7 separate regions of the Homo sapiens genome follow, and regions 1, 3, 4, 5, 6 and 7 are each linked to region 2. Evidence: promoter capture Hi-C in 16 types of primary human blood cells and fetal thymus (Javierre and others, 2016). All regions are on one chromosome and are shown on one strand. Each heading gives the region's core, a stretch centred on a gene start or on the middle of the fragment in contact. The rest is flanking DNA. Distances are from core to core; before and after follow the strand shown. Region 1 overlaps SLC39A10 (solute carrier family 39 member 10). Region 2 holds the start of NABP1 (nucleic acid binding protein 1). Region 3 has its middle 31 kb from the start of DNAH7. Region 4 overlaps STK17B (serine/threonine kinase 17b). Region 5 has its middle 6.8 kb from the start of DNAH7. Region 6 has its middle 50 kb from the start of DNAH7. Region 7 overlaps STK17B (serine/threonine kinase 17b).

Evidence for each region. The method cuts DNA at HindIII sites, captures the fragments that hold promoters and counts their contacts. A CHiCAGO score of 5 or more calls a contact.
Region 1: a fragment that was not itself captured here is called in contact with the fragment with the promoter of NABP1 in region 2 in 1 of 17 cell types (total B cells); the score reaches 5.7 in total B cells.
Region 3: a fragment that was not itself captured here is called in contact with the fragment with the promoter of NABP1 in region 2 in 3 of 17 cell types (naive B cells, M2 macrophages and total B cells); the score reaches 10.6 in naive B cells.
Region 4: a contact is called between a fragment that was not itself captured here and the fragment with the promoter of NABP1 in region 2, in 8 of 17 cell types (non-activated CD4 T cells, fetal thymus, total B cells and 5 more). The highest score is 17.0, in non-activated CD4 T cells.
Region 5: a fragment that was not itself captured here is called in contact with the fragment with the promoter of NABP1 in region 2 in 7 of 17 cell types (naive B cells, total CD4 T cells, total B cells and 4 more); the score reaches 15.0 in naive B cells.
Region 6: a fragment that was not itself captured here is called in contact with the fragment with the promoter of NABP1 in region 2 in 4 of 17 cell types (total B cells, naive B cells, non-activated CD4 T cells and 1 more); the score reaches 10.3 in total B cells.
Region 7: a fragment that was not itself captured here is called in contact with the fragment with the promoter of NABP1 in region 2 in 14 of 17 cell types (fetal thymus, total B cells, total CD8 T cells and 11 more); the score reaches 25.0 in fetal thymus.

What each region holds. Positions count from the first base shown.
Region 1 is chr2:195,705,415-195,708,830 of GRCh38, forward strand. SLC39A10 (solute carrier family 39 member 10) reads left to right here. Exons shown (of 10, transcript NM_020342.3): 4 at 1,202-1,371; 5 at 3,242-3,416. Among named protein-coding and RNA genes, the nearest start is that of SLC39A10, 50 kb to the left of the region's middle. The HindIII fragment of the contact is 1,518 bases long and covers 1,076-2,593 here.
Region 2 is chr2:191,676,416-191,679,493 of GRCh38, forward strand. It overlaps NABP1 (nucleic acid binding protein 1), which reads left to right and starts at 1,721. Exons shown (of 6, transcript NM_001031716.5): 1 at 1,721-2,290; 2 at 2,575-2,713. The coding sequence starts at 2,200. RefSeq lists enhancers at 1,273-1,352, 1,562-2,064, 2,892-3,078 and silencers at 1,413-1,762, 2,363-2,422. The HindIII fragment of the contact is 1,958 bases long and covers 183-2,140 here.
Region 3 is chr2:196,098,737-196,101,740 of GRCh38, forward strand. No RefSeq gene overlaps it. Among named protein-coding and RNA genes, the nearest start is that of DNAH7, 31 kb to the left of the region's middle. RefSeq lists enhancers at 2,227-2,316, 2,337-2,486, 2,757-2,856. The HindIII fragment of the contact is 5,493 bases long and covers 1-3,004 here.
Region 4 is chr2:196,134,487-196,137,435 of GRCh38, forward strand. It overlaps STK17B (serine/threonine kinase 17b), which reads right to left. Exons shown (of 8, transcript NM_004226.4): 8 at 1-2,949. Among named protein-coding and RNA genes, the nearest start is that of STK17B, 36 kb to the right of the region's middle. The HindIII fragment of the contact is 5,241 bases long and covers 1-2,949 here.
Region 5 is chr2:196,074,087-196,077,232 of GRCh38, forward strand. No RefSeq gene overlaps it. Among named protein-coding and RNA genes, the nearest start is that of DNAH7, 6.8 kb to the left of the region's middle. The HindIII fragment of the contact is 2,343 bases long and covers 726-3,068 here.
Region 6 is chr2:196,116,869-196,120,269 of GRCh38, forward strand. No RefSeq gene overlaps it. Among named protein-coding and RNA genes, the nearest start is that of DNAH7, 50 kb to the left of the region's middle. The HindIII fragment of the contact is 190 bases long and covers 1,890-2,079 here.
Region 7 is chr2:196,167,185-196,170,550 of GRCh38, forward strand. All of the region lies in intron 1 of STK17B (serine/threonine kinase 17b), which reads right to left. Among named protein-coding and RNA genes, the nearest start is that of STK17B, 2.7 kb to the right of the region's middle. RefSeq lists an enhancer at 1-46. The HindIII fragment of the contact is 1,692 bases long and covers 725-2,416 here.

The sequences.
Region 1 (3,416 bases), core at 585-3,084, 4.0 Mb after region 2:
TATTGGCTATAGTGTTAACATTACTGGATATTGTGAATACAACGCCCATTGGATAAAACAGTTTTATTGATAAAGTTCAGCCTTTAGTGGGACAGTTAGTATCATCTCCCTATCTTTACTTTTCCTTGTTGTTGAAAATTTTGAGTTATTTTGATGAAGAGATGTATTTTTTCAATATTATATCACAGACTTAATATAAAGTCTTTCAGCAGATTTATAGTCCTCTTAGATTTGATTTGAAAAATAGTATTTTAGATTAAAATCTTTATAAAATTATTGCTCTTCAGTGAGATTTTCTGTAGATAGATCTTAAAATAAGCAGAATTTTAAAAACTAATAACATTTCTATTTCATTTTAGGCCAATAATAGAAATTGTAATGAAAATGTCCAGCCCCCAAACCACTGGCATATATTTCTGATGTCTTACCTGTTTGTGAATGACCTAGATAAAGACATGTATACAGAATTCCCCTTCCCCACCATACCTATTTTTCTTTAAGTCATATTGTGAAAACATTTCTCTTGTGTTCTGAGCCAGTTAAAATTATATAGTGACTTTTTTTTAAGTGGTAAATTGTTACAGAAACCCAAATTGGAGGAATGGGAGTTTGGAACCAGGTGTGGAGAAAAAAAATCAAGAAAAATAGGACTGAACTAACCTTTGTAACAATAAAGCTACCAGTAATAAGACTTTTTTGTTATCTCATCATATGAATATATTTCCATTTGGGGCTATGTTACATTTCTTAAACTCTGTATTAGAAAGATTTACAAAGATTGTAACACGTTAAATAGATACTTGGCTTTTTTAATGTTCTCAGGTGAGTTTTATAATTATATTCTTTAAATAAACAGCTTTATTGTTGTGGCTCTGCCTTTAGACTTGGGAAATTTTTATTTATAGTTTAGCTATTAAGTGAATCACAGCCTTCAGTCATTTTAAGTCACTGGTTCTTATCTCGTGGGCCATTGAAGGTACTATTTATAACTTGATCTGAGTGTCTTAATTCTTTTTAAAAATGTTTAAGTTAGTTATATGTCATATTTTTGTTTTGTTTTTAAACAATGCCTTAAAGCTTTCATAATCTGGGTAAAATAGTCTACCTTCTACGATTCATTTATCTTATATTTTTATTCTTTTTGGTAGTCTGTTGGTTTAAATTGTTATACTAATGTTGACTCTTAATTTCTTTTCTACAGCCTGGATTTGTGGTATCATTTCTATCACTGTCATTAGCCTGCTTTCCTTGCTAGGCGTGATCTTGGTTCCTATCATTAACCAAGGATGCTTCAAATTCCTTCTTACATTCCTTGTTGCATTAGCTGTAGGAACAATGAGTGGAGACGCCCTTCTTCATCTACTGCCCCATGTAAGAAATGTTTTTAATGTTTTTAAAAATTTAAAATAAAAATATTTAAGCTGAAAGGGTCCTTCATTAGCAAGCTATAGCACAGTAATCTAGTATTTGTATTGTTTTATTTGCTTATAGGATGAAGTATTTTTTTCTCCATTTTCAGAGTTTTAATAGCAATATTTTTTTAAATAAATTGAATCATTAGGTCAACTTTGCTTTCAATAGTCTTTAAAAAAAACTCATTGGATTAAAATTTGCAATATCAGTAGCAGTGAGTGGTCTTTTTTATCTGTGTAGCATATCAGGTTAGCCTTTAGGAGAAATGCATAAGATATGTTGTAATGATTATGCCTGTAGGTGGTATGCCATCAGCATCTTTGAGCGGGAGTAGGCAGATACACTCAGTGCGCTGTTTTACACTTAGCTCTTTATACATGGGGGCATTTATCTTTTCACCTGTCATGCCAGTCCTTTTCTTCTCTTTGGGGACACTTCTAATTATATGATCACAAGCCCATATTCCTAGTACCATGCTTACCAACCTTTTTAAAAGTTGCTCTCTATAACCTATCAATAGTTAGTTAGGTAGATAGCTGTCTATCACCAGCTAAGAGTATTTAATTCACTCTTACTATTTTTACTTCAAATTATGAAAACAATGGGGATTTTTCTTTTCCAAATATAAAATTGAAGTATTGAGTATTTCCCTTCTAGAGAATTTGGGAGACAGGATTATATTTGTGTGTTGTGTATATCTCCTCTCTTCTGCACTCTTGGTTGAGAATTCCAGATTTAGTATCTACAGCAATATATGGCATTGCTTTTTTTTTTTTTAATAAACAGGTTAATGAATCTTAAGGCTGTGAATATGAAGTTTTTGTTTCACCATTTCTACTAGCCATCAAGAATAGCAACAGTTTCCTTTAGAACTGGGCCTAGTAAGAGTTATTGAAGTGAGAACAGTATTTAAGTGCTGTTCAACTTGTTTTTGTATTAAGAAGGGTTAACTAAACCTAGCTGTTACCTTTTTGAGTGGTCTGATATCCTCTGAGAGGTTTAGATATCTCTTTGGTTGACCACTAGTTAACAGGAAAAGAATACAAATAAATTTTAGAACGAAGAAAGATACCTAAGTGCAGTTATCTAACTTATGTTCTATAAGATTACTGTTGTGATACTTGTACATTTCATAATGTTGAAACATAACCTTTTCTATACATACATTTATGATTGCTAAAGCTTTAAAATATAGAAAATTACATATTTAAGGATACCCTCTTGCTAACTTTCCACAGTATATGCAGAGATAGCGACCTTATTACCTCTGAAATAATTTTATAAGAGAAGAAACTGATGAAATAATCTGTACAACAACTCCCCCTGACATAAGTTGACCTGTGTAACAAACCTGCACTTGTACCCCTGAACTTAAAATAAAAGTTAAAAGAAAAAATATATGATAATCAGTTTAAGAAAGAATTAGATTACAGGGAATCACAAGTGACTGCTGGTGAATTAGTTTGTGTGTTTTGTTTCATTTTTACTAAATATTTGGCATGTAAGTAGATCATGTTCACTTCAATTTACAAAGAACCCATCACTCCCTATTGTTACTTCTGGCTTGATTCTCTCACTGTAGTATGTATCTTATTCTTATAGCATTTGACTTGGTGTCTTTGAGTTACTGTAAAATGTAGTAGTATTTTGGACAACTGAGTAAAGCAAATTAAATGGAAGACTAAGTGAGATAATATCTAGGGGAGCACTTTAAAACTTGAAAGGTATTTTTTCTGTGTCATTTAGGAGATTATAATTATTATAATTTCAAAATTTTAAATAGCATTTCAATTATTTGTTTAGAAGTTTTATTTGTTCTTATTAATAGTCTCAGGGTGGACATGATCACAGTCACCAACATGCACATGGGCATGGACATTCTCATGGACATGAATCTAACAAGTTTTTGGAAGAATATGATGCTGTATTGAAAGGACTTGTTGCTCTAGGAGGCATTTACTTGCTATTTATCATTGAACACTGCATTAGAATGTTTAAGCACT
Region 2 (3,078 bases), core at 471-2,970:
AGAATTAGAGCTTCTGAGCTGGATTGGGATTGAGGTTGGACGCTGGCTCTGCCATTAACTGGCATGTTTCATCATTTGTTTTATTTGATGTTGAAATTATGCTTATAATTTTATTTTACACCACTTTCCAGTATGACATCAGTGTCTTTGGCACCTTGGGCTTTATTAGTTCATGAAATGGAAGCTTCTGTTTCCTTAAAAATGCCTTGACTCTCTTGCTAATGTTGTGATAATGTTTCCAACTCTTTCTAGGGCTATAATATCTATGCTGCTTGTTTGCAAATACTTGGGAAGTGGTGGTTGATCTAAAGATACTCAGAAAGAATGGGGAGAAAATTAAGGCTTCTGACACTTTTCCCAACATTTCTGTTATCATCACCAAGAATTAACTAGATGATTCTTTAATGCCCCACTACTTTATTCTGCTATTTTATTTCTTCAGTCTGTTTTTGACTCTTATAATGACACCACTGGAAGTTAAGTCTAAACATTACCTTTAGGCTGGAGAGCTCTGGGGTCAAGATTGACTAGATTTAAAACCCAGCTCAGCCATTCTCTAGCTATCTGGTCTCTGGTGAGTTCCATCGCCTGTAAAACGGGGATTAAAAAGGGGAAAATACTGAGTATGTACTATTTGCTAGGCACTAGTTGGACAATTTATGATCCATTTAATCAATCTTCTGCTAGGCAGGGATCCCCATTTTATTATGGTTAAAAAGCTGTAATAAAAGCCAATTGACCTAAAGCTCTCACAAGTAAATAGCTGGAGCCCAGGTTTGTCTCTAAAGCACATGCTCTTTTCACTACGCGACATAAAAAAAACTTTATTAATCTTTTTTTCCAGATTATGTTTCAAGGGTTCCCACTGCTGTTGAATAATTAATTCCTTTTAGATGTACAAAAGCAAGTGCAAAGTAAAAGAAGAAAAGCTAAATGGGGAAGGTGTGTAATATGAGAGGCAGGGGGTAAGGAAAAATGAGAAGTCTGCAAAGGAATTTACGTCCTATCTGCTTAGCATTACACAGTGGAAGCCCACGTCAGACATTTGTGTTGCAGTCCTGCCTGCTCAGGGGTTGCTGGGTGACCTTCTGCAAATTACCTCATCTTTCTGGGTTTCAATTTAAGTATGCCTGAAATGAGGCGGTTGAATTGATCTCCAAATTCCCTTCTGGTGCTAAACTTCCAGCCTTGTAGCCACTGACGCCTTCACCATCCCAGCCTGTTTTCCCTTGGTACCGGACCAGCTGCCCTTGCCCGAACCCTGTTCTTCCTCGACTGCGAACTTTCTAACGTACTCACAGGTTCTAAACTCTACCGTTCCTCGTGACCGAGGGACTAAAGGGCCCGGGCAGGGGCTCAACTCTGAGAGAAAAAAAGGCAAGAAAACTCCAAAGTTGGACAGCAAGCGTCAAAAGACTGCACAGCAGGAAGGCGAAACCGAACAGAACTGCTGCTGCGCGGCGACAGCTGAAGTGGGTGGAGAACGGGAGGGCGGGGGAGGCGGGGCCGAGAGCGATTGGAAGGACGAGGGGGCGGAGCCCGCGCTGACAGCCCCCGGGGAGGAGCGAGGGAAGCTCTGCGGGCTGCGGCGGCCGGGTCCCGCCCCTTTGCTTCCCCTCCCCAGCACCAGGCGGGCGTGGCAGCAGGCGTGCCGACGCAGCGTGACTTCACAAGGGGAGGGGCGGGCCGAGGGTCCTGCCGGCGCGCGGGCGTGTTCATCAGTCGCTGTTTGGGACGCTGGGTGTGCGGTGTTCTGTCTCCGCTCCCGTTTCGCTGTCACAGCCCGTTCCTTCCCGGAGCCCGGGACAGGCTGGGCGCGCGCCCGTGTGAGTGAGCGGGACTCAGGGCAGAAGTGTCCCCTCACTGCGTTTTTTTTTCCTTTTATCCAAAGAACGGGGCAGTTAGTACGCTTGCCTTCCTGTCGCCCGGTTGGGAGCGGGGTTGGTGTGCGGAGTGGTTCGCCTTTTTTTCTTTAGAACTTGTGAGCCTTTTTTTTTTTTTTTTTTTTTTTTCTTTTTTTAGGCTCAGTGCTGTCCGGGCTGGTTTGCCCGGTCCCTGACTAACGGCTTTCTGCCCCTTCTCTCGCCACCCCTGCCCAAGGTCGCCCCTCTGCCTTCGCCCCTGTCCCGGGAGGGTGGGAAGCTTTGACCCCGCCCTGCCCACTCGCGTCTCCGCAGCCGTAGCCGCGCCTGTCCCAATATGAATAGGGTCAACGACCCACTTATTTTTATAAGAGATATTAAGCCCGGACTGAAAAACTTAAATGTCGTCTTTATTGTCCTGGAGATAGGTAAGTGGGGTTTGCAGCCTACTCCACCGCCCGCTGTGCCTCCCGGGGCGGGAGACAGGGGCGCCGGCCGCTGCGCGCCCGGGGCTCCCCTCCTCCTCCCTCCCCTCCCCCACCCACGTGGCTCTAGTGGCCTCCGCCCGAGATCGGATCCTACCTGAGGCGGGAGCCCTGGGCTTGGTCACTTCCCACCTTCCAGATGTATTAAAATACCGGAGGAGGAGTTAGCCTTTCTGGATGTCCTCATTATCTAACAACCCCTCCCTTTGATTTTTAAATCCTCACAGGACGCGTGACCAAAACCAAAGACGGCCATGAAGTGAGATCGTGCAAAGTAGCAGATAAAACGGGCAGCATCACTATTTCCGTGTGGGATGAGATCGGAGGTCTTATACAGCCAGGGGATATTATTCGGTTGACCAGAGGGTAGGTGTGCAAAAAAGTCGGGGGACCTAACAGTCTGCAGAATCGGGATTGGCCGGCTCCTGGGATCTTGGCAAGCCCTGAAGTCCCCCGCCTTTTCTGTGGGCCACTCTTGAGGAGTTTTGAACTCCTTTGGTGTTAACTTTGGGTGGTGGGCAGCGCTGGGATGTAACAGACCTTTGCAGTGAAAGGCAGTCGGTTTCAGCTGGGAAATCCGCGCCTCTACCCCGGTTTACAGGTTAAGTAGATTTTTAATTATTATTATTTTTTGGGACCGAGTCTCGCTCTGTCGCCAAGCTGGAGTGCAGTGGCGTGATCTCTCCTCACTGCAGCCTCCGCCTCGCGGGTTCAAGAGATTCTCGTGCCTC
Region 3 (3,004 bases), core at 333-2,832, 4.4 Mb after region 2:
AATATTTCCATAAATAGCCCCCTCTTCTGCTCTTGTTCTCTCTAATTTATGACTGGAAAATCTCCTTGAAAACTCTTTCATTTACCAACTCCAAGCTAAGCCTCCTGCCCTCCTCTCTTCTGCCTTATACTGACCTGTGACCAGTGTCAGATGGGCCTCTTAGAGCAAACCTTTCTGCTCTTCCTTCACCCTCTCCACTGTCTTCACACACTGTCCATGTGGAATCTTTCTTTCTTAAAGGGCATAGATAATGACTGTGCCCCATGAACTGAAGTCATGGTTGGTGAGTTTTCAGCCTCCATTTTTTTCAGTTTTTCAATTGCTGTTGGCCAGGAGCCCCTTCCAAAAATCAACACATCATGCCTCTATTCTGGAATAAGCATCTTCCAGGTAACCCTCAAATGGATCATATTTTGAGAATTGCAGGCTCACTTCAGTTAGCACGGCATTAGCAAGCTATTCTCTTTCTATCTTCTTCAGAGGTGTTTATTCAGTGGCTCCTGTCTGTGAAGGGTGTCTTCAATCTGCAGTCTGAAGGAAAGAATCTCCACCAGCCATATTTTTGCCAATGCTTGTCCCATTGTTTCTTCCTTGCCACTCCTCCAAAACACACACATACATTCTATACCTCTACTAGCACCCACTATAATCACTGTTTCTACATTCACAGATGCAAAATGCCTTTATGTTCAGAGATGGTTAACATTTTCTTTTTGTCACAAAATCTGTAGGTTGCTTTTTGGATTTTTAGTAATAATCTTACATAGAATACACTTACATAGGACATGGTTCCTAGCCAAAGACATCCAAAAGGTTTGCTCAAAAACATGTCTTGTTGGGTCAGCCTTTATTAAATCCTCCCCAGGAGCCGATATTTTGGGAACAAAATATTACTGGTAAAGAGAAGCATGTGAAGTTTCCAAAAGCAAAAGTGTCTGTAACCAATGAACAGATAAAATTTCAAGGCCTATACAGTAAAGCAGCTGTTAGATGATTTACTGGAAAATTCCTCCAAAACATAATAGAGGCTGCCCACTACAAAGGAAATATTTTTCCTTCAAGTGCATAATATTCAAGTTCAATATGTTATGTACTCAAATTACCTCTCTATTAAAATCTGGGGTTTTCACGATAACCTCCACCATGGGGACTTGATTCTCATTCCATCCCAATGAAAAGCCAGGACAGCACTGGTTGGTGTGAGATTCATGAGGTGAGTTCCAAACTCCAGAGACTCATTCCTTTTGTGCAGCTTCCAGTATCAATAACACAGGATAGGACTTCATTTCCCAGGCATATAAGTGACTCACACTAAACTAGACAAATTCGATAACCTCTCACTTTCATTTAGAGAAATGATCATAAAGCTGCCAGTGGGGCACCATGTGATTTTCAAGGCGGGCAGCACAATTGCAAAACAATACTTGCAGGAATCATAGAGGAAGAGAACAATTGTTTCCAGCACCTCCCTTATCTCACTATATGGACAGACAGTGCATAGAGGGACATTCTCAGATGCCACAGCACTTGAGTGTTTTGGTAAAGTCCTGATGGAGACCAGGGAAAGCGGCAAGAGAGTGAGGTGTGCAGCACACAGCACAGTCACTGCTCCACAGCACCAGAGATCTGGAGGCACACGTGGAACCAAATGGGCCAAAAAAAAAAAAAAAAAAAAAAAAGGAATTCATAGTCCTCAGGCCAAGAATTCTCCATTTAACCTCATTCTTGACTCTGCCAACCCACGCGATCATTTATTAGGAGTTAACAGAAACCTTTAGGGAGAGATTTGTTAAGGGTTACAGAATCAGAGCAAGGGAGGAGGAATACGTTTCTAGTGTTCTATACCACTGTAGGACTACTACAGTTAACAATATGTAGTTTCAAATAGCTAGAAGGAAGGATATTGAATGTTCCCAACACAAAGAAATGATAAATGTTTGAGATAATGGATATGCTAATTACCCTGATCTAATCATCATACATTATATGTATCAAAACATCCTTACATACCCCATGAATATGTACAATTATTATGTGTAAATTAAGAAAGAAAGAAATCTCTTGGACTCCATGTAATGTATTTACGCACAGAACACATTCTGGCTCAAACTAGGAGGTGGAGGTCTCCAACTGTACAAAGGGCACTATTGCACTTACTAGGGGTAAGGATTAGAGCTTTCGATCTACACAGGAAAAGTAGAAATGGCAGTCAAGAGCCACAGTGATGCAAGCTGAAGTCAAACCAAGAGGTGTTCCCTGCCACTTGTCTCTTATTTTGAACATGCCAACTAATTGCAGCCCACCCATCCATCCTTCCTTGTGCCAGAGGTGAGGGCTAAGCCATTGCTGCAGAAGTCCTCTTCAGCAGATAGCTGTTTATCTGGTCCTTGATTAATGGTAAGGGGGCTGCTCCTAGCTTTGTTTGGATGTTCAGACAGCAAGAGAGGACACTTGGTTTCAATATGTATATCTATTTGATTCAACCTCCAGCTAAACAATCCTGTTTTCCCTAAGAAATGAACATGGAAATGGTCAAATGTCCACAGGAACATTGGTACAGGAGGAGTATGTTCAATAATCACAAGATATGAGTCAGATGTTCAGAGTGTGATTTTGATATGAACCTTTATTGTGGGAGAGGGAGGGAGGGTTGAGCTATCTGAGAATCAGTTCTGGCTCAGTCCCTTGAGCCTGCTTGGGTGCGAAGGTTTCAGTTCTGTGTCAGTGACTCAGCTCTACTCTGTTCAGGGAAGATAAATTAGGTGCCACGTGCTTTACTCTTAGTGAAATAGGTTATTTTGGGGGAAATATGTGGAAAGTTACTTTTTAAGAAATTCCAGTGAATATGAAGGGCTCCTATCTGAAAAGATGCACATTTGGCTTGTTGTGAGAATTTTTTCCTTCCTTATGAAAAACATCTTGTCTTCAAATTTGTCTGGAACTGTTTACTACATTGCCCTTTTGAGTTGCACCAATAAGAAGGGAGTCAAACACCATTTCCAAT
Region 4 (2,949 bases), core at 54-2,553, 4.5 Mb after region 2:
AAACCATCCCCCTAAACCCCCAGTCCTGTGGAAAAATTTTCTTCCACAAAACCCGTCCCTAGTGCCAAAACAGTTGGAGATCGCTCCACTAGAGAACAGTTAACGGCTTACTTCCTTTAAAGTGCCATTACAATTTCACTGCTCAGAGCTAGGTTCTTTACTGTAGGGAAAATAATTAAAATGACAATTGCAATTGTCATCTATATATCATCTATTTAAAAATCCCATCTATTTAGGGATCCTACCCAAAAAGCAAATTTAACTTTAAATTATCACAACATAACACTTATCTTCTCATGTGTTCAAGTGTTACTGACATTTGTCCACTCACAGGGGCTCTCTAGATTCCTACTTTAGAGAAATACATTATGCTTTTCAATCTTGGGAGAAAAAGAGTAAGAATTGAATCATTTGCTAAAAAGCTCTTAAATGATTGGTCTATTTTCATATTCCAATCAATAACGTTATTTAAATTCACACCTTTGTAAAAAGAGTGGATTTTTATATTCTTTGTGCAATCACTAGTTGCTTTTTTACTATAAAACTTAATATCAGGAAAAAAGGCATGGAAATTTACAGCTCTGTATTCTACTACTTAAAGGTAGATGTAAAGTATTTTAAGATTTTCAGACATTTGTAAAAATGTCTTTTAACAAATGAACTTATAATTTAAAATTCAAATATTTCTTGATTTTTTGGGGGATGGCATGATTCCTCTAAAAATTAAAAATATAATATGGTCTTCAGAAACATAATCATTTCATTATCCAATGACTTACTAAACTTTACTTGCATTATCTTAATACCAAAGGCAAGTAAATGGACAATCAACAATTTAGAAACAACTCATCAGTTTTAGATATACAAGGGCTCAATTTAGATTATACAACGTCTAGTTTATTGGACCAACAAACTACTTAAAGAATTTAAATGTCATAAGAAGAGAACATAAAGTCATATAAAGAATATAAATGTCATAATTTATATGTCATAAGAAAAGAGCTCCTGGGCGGGGGCGCAGTGGCTCACGCCTGTAATCCCAGCACTTTGGGAGGCCGAGGCGGGTGGATCACTTGAAGTCAGGAGTTTGTGACCAGCCTGGCCAACATGGTGAAACCCCGTCTCTACTAAAAATACAAAAATTAGCTGGGCACGGTGGCATGCGCCTGTAATCCCAACTACTCAGGAGGCTGAGACAGGAGAATTGCTTGAACCCGGGAGGCAGAGGTTGCCGTGAGCTGAGATCATGCCACTGCACTCCAGCCTGAGAGACAGAGCAAAACTCCATCTCAAAAAAAAAAAAAAAAAAAAAAAGCTCCTTTGGCACCTGAGTTGAGCACAATATACCACAGCAAAGAATCTTGAAAAGTGTCTAAAGAATGTATTGTATCTATCTATAGATATATACATACACCTGTACATACACACATGTGCACACATACACACACAAGTAGAGAAAACTTTTCCTTAACAAATGCTGAAGACATTAAAGGAATTCACCATGTGGTCAAATAAAGTGACCTGATAGTTATTCAAAAAGTTTTAAGTTATTATTAAAGAATTTGGAAACTTACCAAAATTTTGAGAAGTTAAAGGTCTAAAGGGGGAACATCAGGTTGTTGTTACCATTTGTCAAACTATTTCTTCTGATACAGCAACATGGTCATGAGATCACAGTTATCGTAACATGATAACAGACCAATATAACGGTCATCAGGTGAAAATTCATAAAAGATTACCCGAAAAGGACTAACTTTCCCCATCATTAGGGCTGGATATAGTCTCTAGCCATAAGCAAACATTTTGCTCTCCCTAGTCTCTTGCATTGGTCCCAGCAAAAGACCACAATGAGGGGCCACTCTGCAGATGGCTTTAAGCTGAGCCTCCTCACTCACTAGGAATTTCACACAAGAACTTCAGACGAGCCTGATGTCATGTTTTATGATCACATCAGTCTTGCTACCGCTGACTCGGGCACTGTGTTAATAGACCTACCGGTGCTGTAATTTTTTATGCATACTTTTAGAACTCTGAATGACTGGCTTGTATTCTAAGATGCAGAAGACATCTAAAATTCAGTAAGCTGTCTGAGTGTGTCAACATTTTCTTCTATATTCAATTAATAAATATGTTTGACTAAAAATACAGAATATTTAACTATACCTAAGTATCTTCTACTCTAGAAATTCTGGAGGATTAAAAAACTCTACACTTGCATACCAAATATCTCCATCTTCCAGACCTTATCAGATCTCAAGTAGGTTGGGAGGAGGAAAAAGACATTTGCGTTAAAATACGAAGGCATGCTACTCTTTCCTCTGCTCCAACTTGTAAAGAATATCCCTGATCAGGTTTCTAACTCCCTCTTTGCTCTAGTTAAAGGATCTCTCTCATATAACAGACCACAGAGAATGAAAATCTTACGAAGTTTCAAAATATTTGTAATTGAAAGACATTTTCAATTGTAAAATGTCTCTTGAGCATCTATAAAGTAGAAATTATTTTGGCTTAAACTTCATACTGCTTTCCTAAACAAATTATGTTGATAGAGGCATGGTATAAGAGTCACCTTAGAGAGAGAACCTATTAAATTCCAATGTCTTCACTGTGTTCAGTTTACACCAACTATAATAAAACTCAAGCCACTTTTTTTGTTGATATGCAAAACATTCTGGTAAGTTCATTTGAAGTTGAATTATTTCATTAACATGTAAACTCACATGTACAATTTTACTTTTTGTCATATATTTAAATATTTTCTTATCTGCAGAGCTATCTCAGGATATGAAATCATAACATGCTAGCAACTAGTAATTTAACATTAAAACACTTCCCTAAATTATTCCATGGAAAAGTGCATTTACAATATAAACATGTCATATATGAAGCTACAAATCATAATCTCACTGGAGTGGATATAAAATTTCAAATTCAGTCCAAATGAGTCAA
Region 5 (3,146 bases), core at 647-3,146, 4.4 Mb after region 2:
ATTATGGAAGGAAAGTAATTTTTTAAAAATTGGCAAGGACAATTCCTTTGTATTTGTCAGTTATCGTGATCCCTGTCAAGCAAGAGGAATGTGGCTTTCAGCACTGACTTCTTAGAGTAATTCTCACAATAATCAGTAATGTCACCAATTATACTGAATGCTGAGATGGGAGAAATAAGCTAGCTAATCTCTGTCCCCACTGTTCAGGTTAAGACCAGCGCAAAATCCTGATAAGAATCAATACAGTTCTCAAAATATTCTGAATGAAGTTTTTGTTTAGACATGTTGGACCACTGTATCTCACAAATTATAAAAAGGAACTTTATCAATCTTGTCATTTGTCTCTTGAAAGATCCTCTTTTGCACTTAGTGCTTGATTTGGGTAAAGCTGTCTGTATGCTTTTGGTTTACTAATCTATAAATATGGAAGTCCATTTTAAAAGAAGGTATCTGGGGACTAAAACTGGTTCCTCCATTTAACCAAATATGAAAGACCAAATAAAGAAAAGAAATTGAATTACTGATATTTTGGTTCCCTGAGCTTGAACTTCAGTTACATTTATGATCTTGTGTTTTCTCTTATGGTTTGGATGTTTTTTGCTAAAATGATTTTATTAGACATGAACCAAATGTTTGCTTAGGAATTTTATGCCCAAACTTGTGCTGATTCTAAGGGAATTTTTTACAAGACTATGTTTTTTTTTTCCCTTAAAATATATTGTGTAAGCTTATGCAGCTGCTGAGTTCTGACTTTTTATGTTGTTATTTGTTACTACTTTTTTTTTTTTTTTTTTACCTCCTGCTTTTGAAACTGTAGCATGTGTGGAAGGAAGCAAGGAGTGCTAGAGCTTATTTTACATCCTCCTTTGAGGCAGTGTGGCAGCTTTTTTGTTACCTTAGGATGGAGTATAAGATTGGGAAAATCAAATGTACAACTTAAAACAGAGTCCAGAATCTGGTTTGTTGTTGTTGTTTTGCCATGCTTCTCTCTTTGTGAACTGATACTTGTACTCATTATCCTCATCTTGCTCAGTCAACAAATATTTCCTACCTGCAGTAGGCCAGACACCATTCTAGGCATGAGAGATACAGAGAGCAGCCAAGATCCCAGTTTCTGTTCTAGGAAAGAGAAATGGAAAATTAGTGAGAAAAAAATAAGTAAATTAATAAATGAATAATTTGAGTTGGTAAAAAGTCCAAAAAGAAAATGAAACAAGGTAATGGGAGAGACTGTCATCAATGAACACATCTTCCAGGAGACATTTGAGCTGGGATCTGAATGACCAAAATGAGCCAGCCATTCAAATACTTTGGAAATGAGTTTCCCAGGAAGTAAAGAGCAGCTAGATCACAGGTCCAAGTAGGGGAATGAGTTTGAAATGTCCAAAGGCCTGAAGAAGGCCAGGACCATAGTGAGGAAGGATGTTATTTTAATTACATGGAGAAATCATAAACGCAAACAGGGCAAGAGGGGTAGGAGGAAAGCCAATTAGGAGCCTACTGGAATAGGCCCGGGAAATACCAATGGTGGCTTAAACTAGAAGGAGGCAAAATTAGAAAGATGGAGAGAAGAGGACAAATCAGGGATATATTTTGGAAGAAAATCTGCTAGGACTTGCTAGAATAGATGTAAGGGATGATGATAAGGTAAAATTACTCCTAGGGTTATTTTTTTTTGCCTGAACCTCTTGGTGGATGGTTGTGCCTTAAAATGAGGAAGGCCAGGAAGCAGAAAGACATGTTGGAAGGTGAAAGAAAATTTAAAACTCATCTGGGTGTGTTGGCTCATGCCTGTAATCCCAGCACTTTGGGAGGCCTTGACCAGTGGATCACCTGAGGTCAGGAGTTCCAGACCAGCCTGGCCAACATGCTGCAAAAATTAGCTGAGTGTCATGGTGTAAGCCTGTAAATCCCAGCTACTTGGGAGGCTGAGGCATGAGAATCGCTTGAATCCAGGAGGCAGAGTTTGCAGTGAGCCGAGGTCGCCTCAGTGTACTCCAGCCTGTGCAACAGAGCAAGACTGTCAAAAAAAGGAAAGGAAAGGAGAGAGGAAGGGAGGCGAGGGGAGAAGGGAGGGAAAGGGGGAGGGGGAAAGGAAGTGGAAAGAAGGGAAGGAAGGAAGGAAATTAAATTTAAAATTCAGTTTTTTTTAGTGGTGATTTCTGAGATTTTAGTACACCTGTCACCTAAGAAATGTACACTGTACCCAATATGTAGTCTTTTATCCTTCACCCCCTCCCACCTTGAGTCCCCAAAGTCCATTATATCATTCTTATGCCTTTGTGTCCTCATAGCTCAGGTCCCACTTATAAGTGACAACATACAGTATTTGGTTTTCCATTCCTGAGTTACTTCACTTAGAATAATGGCCTCCAGACCCATCCAAGTTGCTGCAAAAGACATTATTTTATTCCTTTTTTATGGCTGAGTAGCACTCATGGTGTATATATACCACATCTTCTTTATCCACTCATTGGTTGATAGGTACTTATGTTGGTTCCATATTATTGCAACTGTGAATTGTACTGCTATAAACATGGGTGTGCATGTGTCTTTTTTATATAATGACTTTTTTTCCTTTGGGTAGATACCCAGTAGTGGGATTGCTAGATGGAATGGTAGTTCTGTTACCAGGGATGCTGCCTTGGGATGGATCCTTTAACCGAGATCAACAGAGCTGGAGCTCTGGACCAGCAATCTCAGTTCTTGTGATAGTGAGCAAAGAAATGCAAACTAACAGCAAAGTGCAAGCTCAAAGCAAAGTTCATTAAGGCACAGTAATACACTCTCAAAGGGAGAGTGGGCCAACTTCTACGAAGTGAAATCAGCCACTCTTTGCAGAGCTCAGGATGCTTTTATGGGAGGAGTTGAGGCCTGGGCTGTGTTTGAGTGACAGGATGATGTCATTTGATTGGCAGTTTATAGTTACATAGCTGAAGTTAAACTGAGCATGTTTTTACCGATCTTTCGTTAAGAAAAGCCCACTCAGAGGGGCAAAACCACAAGTAAATTTTACTATAATGACTGTATAATAAGGATGGGGTTCCCCAGGGTTATGGCCTAGATCAAGCTTGTCCAAATGTGGCCCAGGACAGCTTTGAATGTGGCCCAACACAAATTTGTAAGCTTTATTAAAACATTATGAG
Region 6 (3,401 bases), core at 735-3,234, 4.4 Mb after region 2:
TTAGGGTAATTAATTAGGTAACTCTGAAAAGTTGTCTAACCTCTCTGAGACTCAGTTTTCTGACCTATAAAATAAGGATAATATTTGATTTGCAGGGTTGCTGAGATTAAATGAAACATCTTGAATAAAAGAACCACATATAATTCCTGATTCATAATGGGCCCTTGGCAAACTTTATTCTTTCTCTTTTAATTTATACATCATATGTCTCAGAATATAAACATACCCACAGGAAATATTTTTATATAGACACACACACACACCATTTCATAAAAATGTATATTGTAAACAACTTCTGAAATTAAATTGACTACTTAGATGCAATATCGTGGGATTATTTGTAATGTTCTTTAAGGGTACTGGAGCCCAGCCAAAGTAATTAAATCTTTAGCAAATTTAGTAATAAAAAAAGTCCCCAGCCATTGGCCATTGTAATTATTCTATTTCTGGGAAGAAAGGGGACAGGTTTATTTGTAGTATCCCATGCTTAATCATTAGTATTAAATGAATTAGGACCAGAACGAATCAAAGAAGCAAACAGCTGATTACGGCTGCTTTGTAAGAGAAAGAAGTAGTTGATGTTCACACAGGTTAAAGCAGCCAAAAAGGCCTCTAAATAAATGGCCAAGTCTTTTTCTCCTTTTAAACTTGTTTTCTATGGTCTTTAGTTTGTGATTACTTAGATATTCACTTATTTCAGAGGCCTTTTTGTGCAAATCCCAATTTAAAACCTAATCACGTTCTTATTAAATTGGGCTAACGACTGCTTTCAAAAGAAGAAACAAACTACAATAATTTATCTATAAAATTTGACTTTCTATGACTATACAGGCAATTAATTCAATTCTAAAAATGACAAAATTTAGTCATAAAATGATCCAGGCTGAAATGAGGAAAGATCATTAAGTCTCATAGATTTATTCATGATTATCGACATATATAGAGAGAGAGTAAAGGAGGATTGTGATATGCATTATAGAACACGGAGAATCTGTGTTTTGTTAATTCAATAATTCCCTCTTATTCTTTTCCCCACATATATTTTGCAGCCATTGTTTGTTATTCAGTATAGCTGGAGCAACTGTCCACTTGCAATTGTGTCTGTAATTGGTGACCCAGTTGCATTTTACAATCTGGCTAGAAATATCAGTATAATTAGCATATATCTTTCCTTTGGCCTTTCAAAGGGGTATTGCCATCACTAAATTTAAATTCCAGTGGTGAAACCACAGAGAGTGGAATCCTAGCAACTAATTATAAAATAATCCATTTTTTGCTTATTCTGGGAGTTGATCATAGCACAGGGTTGGCACAGGACCTAAACGTGAGAGATAATTCATCTGACCCAACCACAGTTTCACCCACCCTATCCATTGGAGGCATTCTTGAACATTTTCTTTAGTATATTTTATTTTATTTTATTTTATTTTTGAGACAGGGTTTCACTTTGTCGCCCAGGCTGGAGAGCAGTGGCACGACCTCAGCTCATGTCAGCCTTGACCTCCCGGGCTCAAGCGATCCTTCCACCGAAGTCCCACAAGTAACTGGGACTACAGGCATCTGCCACCACACCCAGCTAATTTTGTATTTTTTTGTAGAGACGTGGTTTCACCATGTTGCCCAGGCTGGTCTTGAACTCCTGGACTCAACTGATCCACCAGACTTGGCCTCTCAAAGTGCTGGGATTACAGGTGAGCCACTGCACCTGGCCTTTAGTAATGTGTTTTACAGGGAAGGACTTTTCAACAAGCTGGATGATTGGCTTGTTTCCTGCAAGAAAAAGTTACATTTCCATCTAAAAAGATGGAAAAGTGTGTGTGTGTGTGTGTGTGTGTGTGTGTGTGTAAATTATATGGGAAAATGTTGGAACTTCCCTATTCTCACTAGAAAGCTTTGATAGATAAGTCAGAAGATATGGAAAGACCTGTATTTTCAGGTATGGAAAATATTGCAAAAGAGGTAAATTGATAGAGTTAAAGGAGGCATGAGAGTGCAGTCTCCTGGTTCTGGAAGCCAAGGCATGGCCAAGCTGAGTCCCCAGCAGAAGGCCTTGACAATGACTTTGTATCAAGAAATTCAAGCTTCAAGATATTGAGGGCCCATGAGAACCAGAGCATGTTGTATTGGAACCTACTGCTGCTTTCTAATAAAGGTATGAAGCTTACAGTGCTACAAAGAGGATTACTGAAATGGTCTTACTTGGATCAATAATTTCTAAGAGCCTGCCCTTCCCAGGCCCTTCTCCAGTACAAGAACTGATGTGTTCCCACAAAATAACTTGAATTCAATTCCGGGATAAGCCAGATCTTTGGAGATTATTGGACCACATTGCTTTAACATCTAGTACCTTGTTTTCCAAATAAGTGTCCTTGCTTAATATTTAAAAAGATGTTAGTAAGGTTGAAGTAATTATGAAATACATTACATATTACAATCCTCATTTGAAGATTCCTTGTGTAAATTAAAGCCTCCAAAGAATCCTGCAGTAAAAATGCAAGTTTAACACTGTTAAATATGGTGTTCCCAAAACATAGTTGGGCACAGAACTCTTAGTGCCACATATCTTTGCCACATTATGAGGAATGTGAGTTTGGGAAACATGGATAATTATGTCAATTAAGATGCTTTCAGCTGCTAATAATAGAAAACCCAAAAGAAAATAGCTTAATCTAACAGATGTTTATTTTAATCATATACTGAAAAGTCAAGAAGGAGATGACTGCTGTTACTGCTCCAGTGACTTCTGTGGGTCAATAATGTCAGGGCCAGCATCTCCAACATTCCCTTGTCCCTGAGGACAAGGTGAGGAGGTATAAGGCTGTCAGCAGCATTTCTGCTTTTCATCAAGGTATCAAAAGCCTTTCAGAAGCCACCCAGCAGACTTCCAGTTCATCCCTAATTCCAACTGAGCTGGAATAGCCTCTATAGTGGAGGCAGGCAAGGGAGAAAGACCTTGGCTATGACTGGTGAGTTGGCCAACCTACAGTGCCCTTAGCAATGGTAGAATTACCTTCAGGGACTTGTATTGTGGTTTTATACTTCCAGCTTCCACCAAGAGACACGGTTAGAACTAGTTACATGAAATCTACTGCTTTTATAGTGAAGAACATTCAGTTCATGTTGTTGTTGTCCAAAATAAAAGAATAGCTGTAATAAGATCCACATGAGAAACTCTTCTCAGGCACAATGCTATCTTCCCCCTCCCATGCTCATTCCAGAGACAACGTTAACCCCTACACAACTTTTGGTTTTATCTTAGCCCTAGAAGCCACATTCTTGGTGTTGGATGGTTCTCTACAAGGTCCTGCGATATTCTCAACATGCACTAGGGAACTGGGCAAGGTTCTTGTCACTGCTCTAAAATCCAGAGATTGATCTCTCCTTATTTGCTTCTGAGCTTT
Region 7 (3,366 bases), core at 321-2,820, 4.5 Mb after region 2:
GATTTAAAGGCTTCTCCTTTATGCTTCAAATAAGAGGATCCTTGGCATACTTCTTTACCTCAAAATGTAACATGTTAGATTGCAATTCTGTTCAGTGTTTAAAGGGCAGCATCCTTTTACTTTTGTGCCTAAGCAACCAGCATGGTATCTGCCACCCGGTAGGAATTTTAAAAATGTTTGATGAACTGAATTGTAAGAATTATGAGATATAGAAAAAAGAATTTGTAGGTATATCTCATGTCTTCGAGGGGTTAGGAGAACTTGAGATCCATCTTGAATTTACAGTACTGGAGCTCTGAATGCAGCTAGTCTCTGCTTAATTCAGCATTTGGACAAATAAAGTAACTATTTTAAATTGCACTTACAAAATGTCAGTTCTAAACAGGTAGCCACAAAGTCTGGAAACACAGATAAAATTATTTTGTCATATACTATAATGTAATGCCAATAGACCTTTTGTTTTTACCACTGTTTCCAGACAAGGTGGCTACTTGTTTTTAATATAAGCTACTAATACAAATACCTACTGCAGTTAAGAACATCACTCTTTTAAGAGCCTCCAAAAATCAGGAGATTCAGGTAAGTGTCCTATCAAGATTTATCACTGATAAGTCTAGATCATCATGAAGTACATTGGAAAGGCAACAGGAAGCAAAGTAAGCCCGAAGATTCTAAGGGAAGCAACTCCTTTCTACATAGGCATTTAAGGCATTTACTGCTAGCAAGCTTTCCCTAGGAAACTGAAAAAGAGATTTAACGTCCATCAAAAGTAAAGGAAGAACTTTCTCCTGGTGTGGCAGAAGTATGTGTTTTTAATTAGTCATTGATTAGAAGTATTGGTATCAAGATGGAAATGATGATGATTTTCAATTTCAAGGAAGAGATTATATTCCTCATATGTATTCTGCCAACAGGTTTTGTTTTTTAAAATATTTTGAACAGAAAATATAATTCATAAACTTAATCCTCTAAAAATCACAATAGGAAGTCAGCTAAACTAACTCTAATCCAACCATTCTAGTATATACTATCCAAGGGCTGAAGTGTCAGGCAATGACTCCTAGGCCTGACTCTGTGCCAAGACCCTAAGGCCTAATGCTGTGTCTTCCCACCTCCAGAAAAAGAGTTAAACCTGTTAATTGTGAACCAGGATAAAAGGTTGAAAAACGGAAATAGAGTGGGGGATTCCGGGGTGGGCAACAAATGCATGGTGCTTGTCACTCACAAGACGGAAAATTGGGTTTCTGTTGTAAAATATTGTTTACTTAATAGCACCGCTTAAGTACTATTTATTCAGTAACTATTACAATGCAAAATGGAATCTGCCTTTAAGGATTAAAGAGGAAATTACCATCTCACTGTTAAAATTTTTCAATGCTTACAGTATCACTACACCCTCTTTTGGAGTAATTGCAAAGGGTCAGGGATGAACCAAAATACAATGCATATAAATATTAAAAGAAACTAATATATATGTTTTAAATGGCACTGAAGTTTGAGGTTAAATGTTCTGGAAAAAGGATAATAAAAAACTTAATAAAGTATGCCCTGAAAATTGCAACATTACAACATATTTAAATAAAAATACATGCTTGTAACTTTATAAGAACATTTCTTAACTGAAATATTCAAAGAAATAGCCTTTGATAACAGCCCAGCATAGAATACAAACTACAGTACTTAAACATAAAATCACTGAATTTTGTCATCAATATTATGAAAAACTAAAGCAACTGACATTTGAAGTTTTCCTAAGTGGAAAGGTAGTAGATAAATGACTGCTAATGTTTCTGACAAAACAAATACCCATACAGTGCAGAAGATTTCTTTATGAAAAGAAGAATCAATCAGTATCCTTTAAAAGTAGTAAGCCTAGGAATACTATTTTTTTTTTTTTTTTTTTTTTTTTTGAGACGGAGTCTCCCTCTGTTGCCCAGGCTGGAGTGCAGTGGCGTGATCTCGGCTCACTGCAACCTCGGCCTTCCGGGTCAAGCAACTCTTCTGCCTCAGCCTCCCGAGTAGCTGGGACTACAGGCGCGCGCCACAATGCCCGGCTAATTTTTGTATTTTTAGTAGACACGGGGTTTCACCATATTGGTCTCGAACGCCTGACCTTATGATCCGCCCGCCTCGGCCTCCCAAAGTGCTGGGATTACAGGCTTGAGCCACTGCGCCCGGCCAGAATACTATTCTTAACTGCCAATCTTACATACAGAAAATGTGAATTACAATATACTATGCATGCAATTTTAAGGCAATTTAACGATTAAGTGAAAGTGTTATTAACTGAATTCCTTGACTTCTTGTGTCTCTAAAATTAAAGCAAAAATATTTTCATAAGGAAATTCTCCCTTATAATTATCAAAGAGCTTTAAAACATGTTAAAATGTTCACTTAACAAAAGTAAAACAGAGCAAGCTTAAAAATAAAATTATCTGATTAGAAACGTCAGCCATAAAAATGCTTGTATCTTCTTCAAATTTGTTACTCATATGCTAACACAGCGATTAGTCAAACCTCCAACTTCCTAAAAACGCATTCTATCTTAACCAAATCGTAATTCACTAATCAATGATCCCAAGAGAAACCGCAACCATTCTATTCACACACAAAAAAGGATGGTCTTCAATTACAGAAATTCTACTTTTAAAAAGTCTTGCCATGTAAGCAAATATATTTCACCTCAATTTTGGATCCCTACTTTAGAAAAAAAAAAAGATCTAAAATGTACAATATGTATCTCAAAAATAAAACATCTATTAATACCTCCAATTATTAAGATACTAGAAAAAGTTTAATTGAGCATCTGCTCAGAGGAGGAGGATCCGAGGCAGATGAGTTTAAAACTTTTGCACCGCTTCTATGGACCAGTTTTCTTAAAAAATACACAATCCTAGGGGTACACGGTCTAATATTTATAAAATAAGCACTTGTTGAAAATTACTTCCGAACAGTTCACCATAAAACTAAAAAACAGTGTTATCAATGAGAAAGTAGGTTTATTTTCCTTTAATAAAATTGTGCTCCTGGGTTCAAAATGCCAGGTTACATACGCTGCCACTCATTTCTACAGAGCTATGCTGTCTCCGCGCAGACATTCTCATAGACTTGAAAACGTAAAGTGGCCACACCACGTCAAACGTCCCTGGCAAGGTTCTGCTTATCATTAGCACCACAGATGTAAACATTACGTCGACAAAACAATCGGTGAATGTGATACACAGTCCTCATGTGTTTAAATATTAGTGAAATCTGATAAGTATTACGATTTTAAAAACGTATTTTCTTAATTCCAATTTCCAAATTGATGTCAGAGTGCCTCTAGTCCAGACAGAAACTAATGCCAGCTACCAGCTGCTATAAAGC